2 separate regions of the Homo sapiens genome follow, and region 1 is linked to region 2. The links are contacts of gene promoters, found by promoter capture Hi-C in blood cells and fetal thymus (Javierre and others, 2016). All regions are on one chromosome and are shown on one strand. The core of a region is centred on a gene start or on the middle of the fragment in contact, and the rest is flanking DNA. Distances in the headings are between cores, read along the strand shown.

The links. The method cuts DNA at HindIII sites, captures the fragments that hold promoters and counts their contacts. A CHiCAGO score of 5 or more calls a contact.
Region 1: a fragment that was not itself captured here is called in contact with the fragment with the promoter of CACNA2D4 in region 2 in 1 of 17 cell types (neutrophils); the score reaches 5.9 in neutrophils.

What each region holds. Positions count from the first base shown.
Region 1 is chr12:1,672,622-1,678,351 of GRCh38, reverse strand. No RefSeq gene overlaps it. Among named protein-coding and RNA genes, the nearest start is that of MIR3649, 15 kb to the right of the region's middle. The HindIII fragment of the contact is 5,712 bases long and covers 1,263-5,730 here.
Region 2 is chr12:1,915,156-1,920,889 of GRCh38, reverse strand. It overlaps CACNA2D4 (calcium voltage-gated channel auxiliary subunit alpha2delta 4), which reads left to right and starts at 2,238. Exons shown (of 38, transcript NM_172364.5): 1 at 2,238-2,643. The coding sequence starts at 2,417. RefSeq lists an enhancer at 3,589-4,165. The HindIII fragment of the contact is 3,790 bases long and covers 1,741-5,530 here.

The DNA.
Region 1 (5,730 bases), core at 2,869-5,368, 240 kb after region 2:
CCAAGACCCACTTTCAAAATGAGTTAAGTTCAAAAACTTTCAAAAGCTCTCAAAGTCCGAATTCCTTTAAGCTGAAATCCAAGGCTCTCCACAATCTGGCCCTAACTTAATATTTCAGAAATTCACTCACATTATTATTACATGTACCACGTACCAAGCTCCTGCCAAACCAACTATTTACCATTCCCAAAATATATTCTTCACTTTCTGCCTCTCTCTCCTTCCTTGGAAATCCTTTGCTTCCTACTAGCCTATTACGAAGTCCTTCCTCACACAGCAACTAAAATGGGCTCTTTTTTTTTTTTGAGAGAGAGTCTCGCTCTGTTGCCCATGCTGGAGTGCAGTGGCACGACTGAAATGGGCTCTCTGTCTGCAATTTTACTCATCCTATTAAATGTTAATTAATAATTTTTATGGTATGTGTATTTTACCATAATAAAAAATGGCTTAATGAAAACATAGAGTTAATTAATAGATCTCAAGTTTAACAAATGGGCAGACCAGATAATCTGAAAATTATCCTGCTACAAACACCTACAACTGCTGAGTAAACTCAATAAGGCTTCTTTTAAATACAAAGCCAGGGCCGGGCGGGGTGGTGCACACCTGTAATCCCAGCACTTTGGGAGGCCAAGGCGGGCAGATCACGAGGTCAGGAGTTTAAGACTAGCCTGGCCAACATGGTGAAACCCCATCTCTACTAAAAATACAAAAATTAGCCAGGTGTGGTGGTGGGCACCTGTAATCCCAGCTACTTGGGAGGCTGAGGCAAGAGAAACGCTTGAACCCGGGAGCGGGGGGTTGCAGTGAGCCGAGATCGCACCACTGCACTCCAGCCTGGGCGACAGAGTGAGACTCCATCTCAGGGGGAAAAAAAAGCCAGGTTGGGTGCAGTAGCTCCTGCCTGTAATCCCAGCACACTTTGGGAGCCCAAGGCAGGAGGATCACTTGAAGCCAGGAGTTCGAGACCAACCTAGACAACATAGCAAGACCCCCATCTCTACAAAACAAGCATGGTGGCATGTACCCGTAGGCCTAGCTCCTTGGGAGACTTAGGTGGGAGGATCTCTTGAACCCAGTAGCTTGAGGTTGCAGTGAGCTATGGATATGCCACTACACTCCAGCCTGGGTGACAGAATGAGATTCTGTCTCCAAAAACTAAAATAAATACAAAGCTGAACACTCAAGAAAGAAAGTTAAATAACTAGGTGCCTGAAACACAAAGGGAACCAAGACCACTACAGTACCTGTGAATTCAAGCTTCATTTGCTCTAGAAGGTAGGGGACAAGGGGAAAAAAAAAAACCTTCCCTGAGGAATTAATAACCATGAGCCTGTGCCTTATGTGAGCTTAAGGTTTACTTTTAGAACAATATGATAGAGGATATACGATAAAGTTAGTATTTTTAATGTGTATGTGTATTTTTACACATTTAAAATGTGTAAAAGAAGAAATGCAAGAATAAACAAGAGTGAATGAAATAAGAACAGGTAGAAATGCAAAACAATCAAACTTCCAGAAATTATAAATAAAACTTAGTGAATAAGTTAAACGGCAGATTCGACACAGCCAAATCAGCTGGTTGAATTTACCCAGAAGACAGCATAAAATGAGAAACAGAAAATAGAGATTTGGCGGCCGGGTGCCGTGGCTCACGCCTGTAATCCCAGCACTTTGGGAGGCCGAGCCGGGTGGATATTTTAGGTCAGGAGTTTGAGACCAGCCTGGCCAATATGGTGAAACCCCATCTCTACTAAAAATACAAAAATCAGCCAGGCGTGGTGGTACACACCTGTAGTCCCAGCTACTCGGGAGGCTGAGGCAGAAGAATTGCTTGAACCTGGGAGGCAGAGGTTGCAGTGAGCCAAGATCACGCCACTGCACTCCAGCCTGGGTGACAGAGCAAGACTCTGTCTAGGGAAAAAAAAAAGAGAGAGAGATTTGGAAGCAAGGAGGATAATATGTCTACTGTAACACTCATAGGTAATCCAGAAGGAGAAAAGGGAGAGAACGGAGGATCATAAATATTCAAGAGATCATCACTGATAATTTCCCAGAATTAAAAAAAAATTCCGAGAATTGATGAAAGATATGAATCCTCAGACTCAGAAATCATGACAAGTGCCAAACCAATAAACAAGAAGAAATTTACACCTAGACGTATCATGGTGAAATTGCAGGCACCACAGACAAAAATCTTAGAAGCTACCAGAGACAGAAGACAAAAGAACTACAATTAAATCCAACAATAAAGGCCCAAAGATAATGGAATAGTATTTTCAAAGTATTGAGAAAAAAACAAAAACATTATCAATCTAGAATTCTATATTCATAGAAGTTCTCACTCAAGAGTGCAAACAAAATAAAGATGTTTTCAATAAAATAAAGACATTTTCAATAAAACAAAGACCAGGAGAGTTTAACATTCGGTTCCTCTCTGAAAAAAAAAAAACAAAAAAAACAGCTAAAGTGTATACTTGCAGAAGAAGAAAACTGAACCCAGAAGGAAAGAACAATGGTAATAATTCTCACCTACTTTGGGTGGAAATGTAAATTTGTATACCCACTTTGGAGCAAGGTTTGGATTACCAGGTATAGTTGAATACGTGCATATCCTAAGACCCCAGAATTCCACTGCTAGGCATAGAACCTCCTGTATGAGGGACATAAGGAAATATGTAACAACATCATGATTTATTATAGCAAAAGCCTGGAAATAACCCAAATAAATAAATAAGGTGCTATTGATTTATTTATTTTATTTTATTTTTATTTTTATTTTTTGAGACAGAGTCTTGCTGTGTCGCCCAGGCTGGTGGAGTGTGGTGGTGTGATGTCGGCTCACTGCAACCTCCACCTTCTGGGTTCACGCTATTCTCCTGCCTCAGCCTCCCAAGTAGCTGGGACTACAGGTGCCCACCACCATGCCCAGCTAATTTTTTGTATTTTTAGTAGAGACAGGGTTTCACATGTTAGCCAGGATGGTCTCAATCTCCTGACGTCATGATCCGTCCGCCTCGGCCTCCTAAAGTGCTGGGATTACAGGCCTGAGCCACCATGCCGGCCTATTTATTTATTTTTTGACACGGAGTCTTGCTTTGTCACTCAGGCTGGAGTGTGGTGATGTGATCTTGGCTCACTGCAGCCTCCGCCCCCGCCCCGGGTTCAAACAATTCTCCTGCCTCAGCCTCCCGAGTAGCTGGGATTACAGGCATGTGCCACCACGCCTGGCTAATTTTGTATTTTTAGTATAGGCGGGGTTTTAGCATGTTGGTCAGGTTGGTGGCGAACTCCTGACCTCAGGTGATCCACCTGCCTCTGCTTGGCCACAGTTTGTTATTTTTTTAAAAGCAAAGAAATGATGGAGGGATCCAGGCGCGGTGGCTCACGCCTGTAATCCCAGCACTTTGGGAGACCGAGGCAGGTGGATCACCTGAGATAAGGAGTTCAAGACCAGCCTGGCCAAATGGCGAAACCCCGATTCTACTAAAAATACAAAAATTAGCCGGGTGTGCTGGTGTGAGCCTGTAGTCCCAGCTACTCAGGAGGCTGAGGTGGGAGAATTGCTTGAACCTGGGAAGCAGAGGTTGCAGTGAGCCGAGATCACGCCCCTGCACTCCAGCCTGGGTGACAGAGTGAGACTCTGTCTCAAAAAAACAGAAATGATGGAGAAGTTCATCATGGAGTGGCATGCAGGTGGCTTCTGAGGTATGGTAATGTTCCTTTGGGTACATTTTATTGCTATTCTCTAAACTGTGCTTTTTTTTCTTGCCATTCATTCATTAAATATTAAGAGCTTACTCTAGGTCAGGCCTGTGCTAGGTGTTGGAGATACAACAATGACCAAGTTAGACAACGTGCTAGTTCTCATAGAGGACATTGTAGTGAGGAGTTTGGTGTGAATTAAAGATTCATGAATTCCAACTACTTTTTTTTTTTGCAGAAATAGACAAAGTGATCCTGAAACTCACATGGAAAAGCAAGGACCCAGAATAACCAAAACAATCTTGAAAAAGAAGATAAAAGTTAGAGGGCTCACACTTCCCAATTTCAAAACTTACTTTAAAGCTACACTAATGAAGACAGTGTGGTAGTGACATAAAAATAAACATGTATATTTCAATGCAACAGAATGGAGAGTCCAGATGTAAGCTGATACATCCATGGTCAATCTCTGACAAGAGTGGCAAGACCGTTCAGTGGGGAAAGGTCAGTCTTTTCAACAAATGGTGCTTGGACAACAGATATACATATGCAAAATAGTGAATTTAGACCCCCTAAATTCACACCTTCACACTATATACAAAAATAAACTCAAATGATCAAAGACCTAAATGTAAGAGCAAAAACTATAAAAATTCTTAGAAGAAAATATAGGGGTAAATATTTGTGATATTGGAATAGGCAATCATTTCTTAGGTATAATATCTAAAATGCAAGCAACCAAGGATAATTAGATAAATTAGGTTTCACCAAAAGTAAAGGCTGTTATGTATCAAGAAAGCGAAAAAACAACCCAAAATGGGAGAAAATATTTACAAATCATGTATTTAATAAGGGTTTTATATCTAGAATATATAAAGAGCTCCTATACCTCAACAATAAAAAGATAAATAACTCGGCTGGGTGTGGTGGCTCACACCTGTAATCCCATTACTTTGGGAGGCTGAGGAGGGCGGGTCACAGGTCAGGAGTTCAAGACCAGCCTGGCCAACATGGTGAAACCCCATCTCTACAAAAATATAAAAATTAGCCAGGCATACTGGCAGGCACCTGCAGTCTCAGCTACTTGGGAGGCTGAGGCAGGAGAATCACTTGAACCTGGGAGGCAGAGGTTGCAGTGAGCTGAGATTGTACCACTGCACTCCAGCCTGGAAGACAGACTGAGACTCTGTCTCAAAATAAATAAATAAATAAATAAATAACTCAATCTAAAAATGGGCAAAAGATTTGAATAGACTTTTCTTCAAAGAAGATCTATAAGAGGGCATGAAAAATGTCCAATATCATTAGTCATTAGGGAAATGAAAGTCAAAATCACAACAAGATACCACTTCACAGCTGGGCACAGTGGCTCACGCCTGTAATCCTAGCACTTTGGGAGGCCGAGGCAGGCAAATCACTTGAGGTCAGGAGTTCAAGACCAGCTTGGCCAACATGGTGAAACCCCGTCTCTACTAAAAATACAAAAATTAGCCAGGCGTTGGGGCAGGCGCCTGTAATCCCAGCTACTCAGGAGGCTGAGGCAGGAGAATCGCTTGAACCTGGGAGGTAGAGGTTGCTGTGAGCTGAGACTGTGCCACTGCACTCCAGCCTGGGCGACAGAGTGAGACCCCATCTCAAAAAAAAAAAGAAAAAAAAAAGGCAAATTATATGGGATGTAAATTTTATCTTAGTAAAAAACAAAATAACAGAAACAACACAAAAGATTAATGATATCTCACCCTGTCAAAGCAGGAAGGGATCTTAAATGATTGTCTAGTCAAACTGCATTATTTTAGAGAGAAAGAAACCAAGGTGCAGAGGAAGGAAGTGACTTATAAAAAGTGACACAGCTCGGGCCTGGCGCGGTGGCTCACACCTGTAATCCCAGCACTTTGGGAGGCCAAGGCGGGCAGATCAGTTGAGGTCAAGAGATGGAGACTATCCTGGACAACATGGTGAAACCCTTTCTCTACTAAAAATACAAAAATCAGCTGGGCGTGGTGGTGCACACCTGTAATCCCAGCT
Region 2 (5,734 bases), core at 989-3,488:
AATATTTATTATCGAAAGCAGGATCTCGAGAGATATTTGCACACCCGTGTTGACGGCAGCATATTTCACAGTAGCCAAAAGGAGGACACCACCCCAGGGTCCATCGATAGAGGAACGGATGCACAAAATGAGGTCTATCCACACAATGAAATATTAACCCATCATTGGTCACCCCCAAAAAGTAAGGAAATTCTGACACACGCGGCACCGTGGGTGAACCTTACCGACATTGTGCTAAGTGAAATGAGCCAGTCATGGAAGGACAACTATGTGATGACTTCCCTTCTGTGAGGTCCCTAGAACCGTCAACATCAGAGATACAGAAAGGAGAGTGGTGGCCGCCAGCGGCTGGGGGAGGAGGGAACGGGAGCTAGTGTTTAATGGGTTCAGAGTTTCAGTTTTACAAGATGAACGAATTATAGAGATAGATGGCGGCGAAGGTGGAGCAACATGATTAATGTATTTAATTACACTAAACCGTACACTTAAAAAGATGATTAAGATGGCACATTTTATGCCACAATAAATATTGGGCCACAATAAAAAAGTTGAAAAAAGGTGAATATTTATTCAGTTTTAAAAATCATTCCAAATTACAAATTTTAAGAAGCTGGTGAATTCCACCAAATTCACAAAACCTAGAGAAGTTACATTCTTTTTATGTATTGACTGCCCAGTGTGCCTCTGTAGTATTTTTTCTAAATGTGTTTGATTTGTAATCCTCAAAACATGTACAAAATTTATGTGAAATTAAGGCATTCATAGGAATCATTTAGATGCCTTTAAAAAATACATTGTATTCAGCCACAAAACTGTGCCACCAGATTACTCTGATACTACAGCACTGACTTATTGATGAATCTGTGTAGGAGTTTTGTCATCAGAACACTTGCTTCTGCAAGCATTTCTCTGCGTTGGTGGCAATTTTGCTTACCATTTTGCTGGAACCACCAGATTTTGTGAAGACACAGTGCACCAGTTACACTAAGAAAATAATCTGATACGGGGACTGCATAAAATCTATGACTTCACCCCCGGAGAACCCATGTGGTACTACTACTGGTTTGGGCTCACAACACAAGAATTTTGATCAATTCTAATTTGTGTAACTCTCATCAGAACACAAAGCAATGTACGGTGTAATTATATTCTTTCAATATCCACTATTTTCCTAACAGGAGAGAACTTCTGTCCTGGCCAGGCCTTGGTGAGAACCAAATCCTCCACCAACGATGTTACCTGTGTGGCTTTTTGTAGATTTTCTGCAGATGAGCTCCTGACTGTTACTTTGCCCTCCCCACCACACATGGCCAGGGTGGGTGTGACAGCGTGCGCTCACATCACGGCCCAGCCTCTCTTGCTGCATCTGCTGGTGGGATGTCCTGTGGGATGAGTGTTCCTGGAAGCCCTGCCTACACTCAGCTGGAGGTAACTTCTCTGTACAAAGAAGTCACTGTGAACCATGTCAGCATATCCCACTAAGCCCAGATTAAGTGTTTCCCCAGCTCACTTTCCTCTTAACTGGATCCCCCAAGTGCCCTCAGCCACCCAAACATCATCCAACTAAGAGTCCCTCAGACGGAAGAGAAGTTGGGATGGAAAGAGACAGACAGTCTCAACCGGTTATGGTTAAACTATCTCAACTTTTGCATATTTTACAAAAACATTTGGCCACAGGAACACATTGCTAGGGCCTCTCCGGGAAAGGGGGGAGTCTGTGGATTCAGGGGTCCTGAAGCTTCATCAGTTGCACAGCAAATGCGTCCCCAGCCCCGCCCACGAGCAGCTGAGATGTGGAGGCGTGGGTCCACTGACTTCACCTATGACCTATGACCTGTCCCAAAGGCACCAGGCCTGGAAACACCAGCCAGAGTCCCAGCTCTGCCCCTGGGACTCCCCGGGCCTCAAGAGCCTCTGCCAAGCAGGGATGAGGACACACCCCCACCTCAGGGTCAACAAGAGATTTGTGGGTCAATCAGAGTACTGTGCAAACTCAGCTGCTGTCCTCTGGCCATAGTCACAGCAAGCCCTTCCTGGGTCCAGAAGGTGGTTCCACAGGAACGGGGCTGCCTCTTTAAAGCAGAGGGGTGCACTATAGCCCTGAGGGAACCAGCTGCAGTTGTGGTAATCTTGGGAGGCAGCTCCCCACCCCCTGCCACCCCCTCCCTGCTGTCAGGAGAGGATTAGAGGAGAGGCCAGCGGATTAAAGGGTTTCATGTTGCCACAGCCTCTCCCCCAGTCCCTGTCTCCGAGGCCTGCTTGCTAGGTGGGGCGACTCTTCTGTGAGCTGCAGCTGTGGGGCAGAGAGAAGCCCTCCCCACCCAGGACTGAGAGGCTGGAGACCCCAGGCTCGCCAAGGCACGGAAGACAAAGGCCTGGGGCGTCCTGGGGTCTGGGAGGAAGGCAGACAGAGCTCATGGTCTGTGGCTGCTCTGCCCTCCTTCCCCTCCCCAACCCCAGGCCCACCATGCCTGCAACTCCCAACTTCCTCGCAAACCCCAGCTCCAGCAGCCGCTGGATTCCCCTCCAGCCAATGCCCGTGGCCTGGGCCTTTGTGCAGAAGACCTCGGCCCTCCTGTGGCTGCTGCTTCTAGGCACCTCCCTGTCCCCTGCGTGGGGACAGGCCAAGATTCCTCTGGAAACGTAAGCATCACGTTCAACCCCACCCCAAAAACCCGGTCACCCTTTCCCACTTTCTTCCCGGGCTGGGCCTCCATCCTCTGCCCACTCCTCCCGCCCCTGCCCTCCCTCTGGGCTTTTCCCCAGTGGCTGCGACTGACCACTCTCTTGCTGTAAAGCCCTTTGCTTCTCCGGCCTCCTCTTTCTCCTCCCAAAAGCTCTGTGAGTTCTGGAGTCCCACCTGCCTCTCCCCAGGAGCCGGATGGCTTTAGGAAGAACTGATCATCAGGGCTGCTGTCTTCCTGGCCTGACAAGCAGCTTCTGGGACACCTGAAGGGCGGGTGCTCCTTCAGGATAATCGCTGAGATGAGGCAGCCTGGAGGAGCCGGGTTATCTCAGCATCGCAGCTCCCCGAAGCATTTGGCAGGAAATGCGTATTTTGACATTCCAAAAAGGGGAAGCAGTTCTGAACCCACAGAACGTCTCATGCGCACAGGAGGTGGCTTGTCCAGGAACTGGGGAAAAAAATGGATTTTGGTGGCCGCAGTCTTCCCTTTCTACACCTTTCTGCCTCCTTCCAACCTTGATTCTCTAGCCGGCCATTAAGACCGGCTCCAGGAAAGAACCCGGTATCAGTCATGTGCACCTTGGTGTACATGTAAATTACTGTGCAACCTCTCTGGGGTGTCTGTGTTTTAGGCCCTAGCTCAGGTGGTCCTAGGAAGGAAATTTCCAATACATGTGGGTAGCAGAGCCTTCTAGACTGTAGGTGCTACAGACCCCATCCTGTTTACTCCAGCCGCTTGAGCCCAGCACCATAGCCAGGCCACCAACAGAGCCACCTGCCAACTGCATGTCTTAGCAGGAGTGGGGACAGGGAGCCTAAATGACACACCGTGCCTGTGCTTAGCCTTTGCTGACCAGTGGATTAGGCAGCATCGTTTCCCATCGAGCCGCATAGCTCTCCTTGTTCCCTGCCTGGCACGGAGCTGGGCGCTTCACAAATGACACCGTTAGTTTGCAGAGCCATTCAGTGGGGGCTTATTTTTATCCCTATTTTGCAGCTGAGGAAACAGAGGCCCCGAGAGGTCAGGTGACTTCCCCAAGTTCACAAGGCCAGGAAGTGAAGGTGCTGGGATTTGAACTCCTGTCAGCCTGGACTGCACTTTCACCATTACACCCGCCGCCAGCCCGTAACGCTATCTGTTGCTGCAGGAGATGTTCAGAACAATTTTCATCCCCAGAACACACACCAGCTGATAGGAGAGGGCCAACTCCAGGAGTGGGCTGAGGGCCAAGTCGGGGTGGCTGGAATCCAGGCCTTCAGGGAGGGGGGCCCCAGCGGCCATCTATGCAGAAGCCCTGGGTGCTGCCAGAGACAACAGCCTGCACACAGCCTCATCTGCCTGCCCAGGACTTGGCCCCACCTGTCCTCACTCCCGCCGAACCTCTCTTCTCAGTCTTTCCCTCCAGCCGGGCTTCCACCTCCTCCCAAGTCTGTTTCCACAGGGTTCCCAAAGCCCTCCTCATGCCCAATCCAGGAGACATTCCTGGCCTTGTCACCCCAGACCCTGTTGCTTGGGACACACAAGCCCCCGTCTTCTTTTATCCCAGTCCTTGACTTCCGTGGCACTGCGCTCCGCTGGGCCTGCATGGGCACGGCTTATCTCTGCTGTCCTCAAGTGCTCCTCCTCCTCTGCCTGCCCCGGAGGTGGGGGGTGCTCCCCAGCAGCTGTCGACGCTCAGAGATCTCACGCTGCACACTCTCCTTGAGAGAGCCCTCCTGCCCTCAGAATTTCAATCCCTACCTTTGCATCAATGACTCCCAGCCCTGTCTCTACCTACTAGACACATACCCAGTGCTTATGGGCAGCTTTTCCTAAACATCATGTGAGGTTTTAAATTCAGATTTGTGTCTTTCAAGGTAAAACACAATTGGTGCCTTCTAGAGTTGTGCAGTGCACAACCTTCCCAATGGTACTTGGTAGCTCTACAACGGGAACCTCACATTCAGCAGAGCCCAAGGTACACACATCACTTTTCACCCTCCTCAGCTCATTCCCCCTGCCCTTCCTGATAGTCTTAATTGTATTCAGTAACAACACCATCAGGTCAACAACCCACACTGGAAGCCCGGAAGTCACGTTTTACTCCTCCAAGCTCTTCTGTACTCCCGACCTAGAATCCTCTCCCAGACCCCTTTGCAGGCTAACCTCTACCAAACTTCTAACCTGGAGCTCAGATCTCCCTCCCCAGGGAAGCCTTCCCTTATACCACTACCCCTCCCCAACCTTCATGGGCACCTTCAAACATGTACTATGCTACCCGCATGACAAAGCTGTCCCTGCAAGGGTGGGGACTGTGGGGTGGCTCCAGGCTGCCACATGGTAGGACCTTGATAAACATTGGTTGAGTGATGACTGCTGATCTTGAAAGGATCGCACAGGCAAACCACTTCCGCTCCATCTGGAGAGGCTCAGCCCCAGCCCTGTGTACCTGCCCCCAGGACCCCACCAGCCTGGCCAAGATGGTGGGATTGTGGTGCATTTCTGGGGCATGGGCGAGAGGTCGGGGCTCCCCACTAGGCTGCCTACACAGAGGGTGAGGTGTGGCCTCCTTATGCCCTCCTGGCCTGCCCTGCCCTCAGGCTCAGCAGTGGCAGCTCAGAGCCTTTTCCTGCTGTGCCCTTGCCTCACGCGTTCTCTGAGGTTTCAACAGAGGGTTCGGCAGCCCCCAGTGGCTTTGAGTGGAGTGCACTGGAGGGAACGATTTATTGAGAGGCCACAGCTGTGGCCAGGCAGGTTGTCCTTTGTCCTCAGGGTCCTCCGGCCCTGGCCTGAGGCTGTCCACTGCCTCTCCCCTCCTTCTCTCCTCTCAGTCTGCCACTCTCCAACCAGAGGCCCTGGAAGCTTGGGGTCAAGCTCAGTCCTGGGCTCGTCAGCCCGGCCCCACAACCCTCAGCAGGAGAACCTGCCGAGGACATTCAGCACACAGCAGTGCAGCCGCTGGGTCCTGAGGGTTCTCCGCGTCTCCTGCCCAGGCCATGGCTGTAGCTTTAGGGACAAGGAGGAGGGACAGGTGCTCTTTTGTGTGTTTCTGGGCATATGTCACGTGT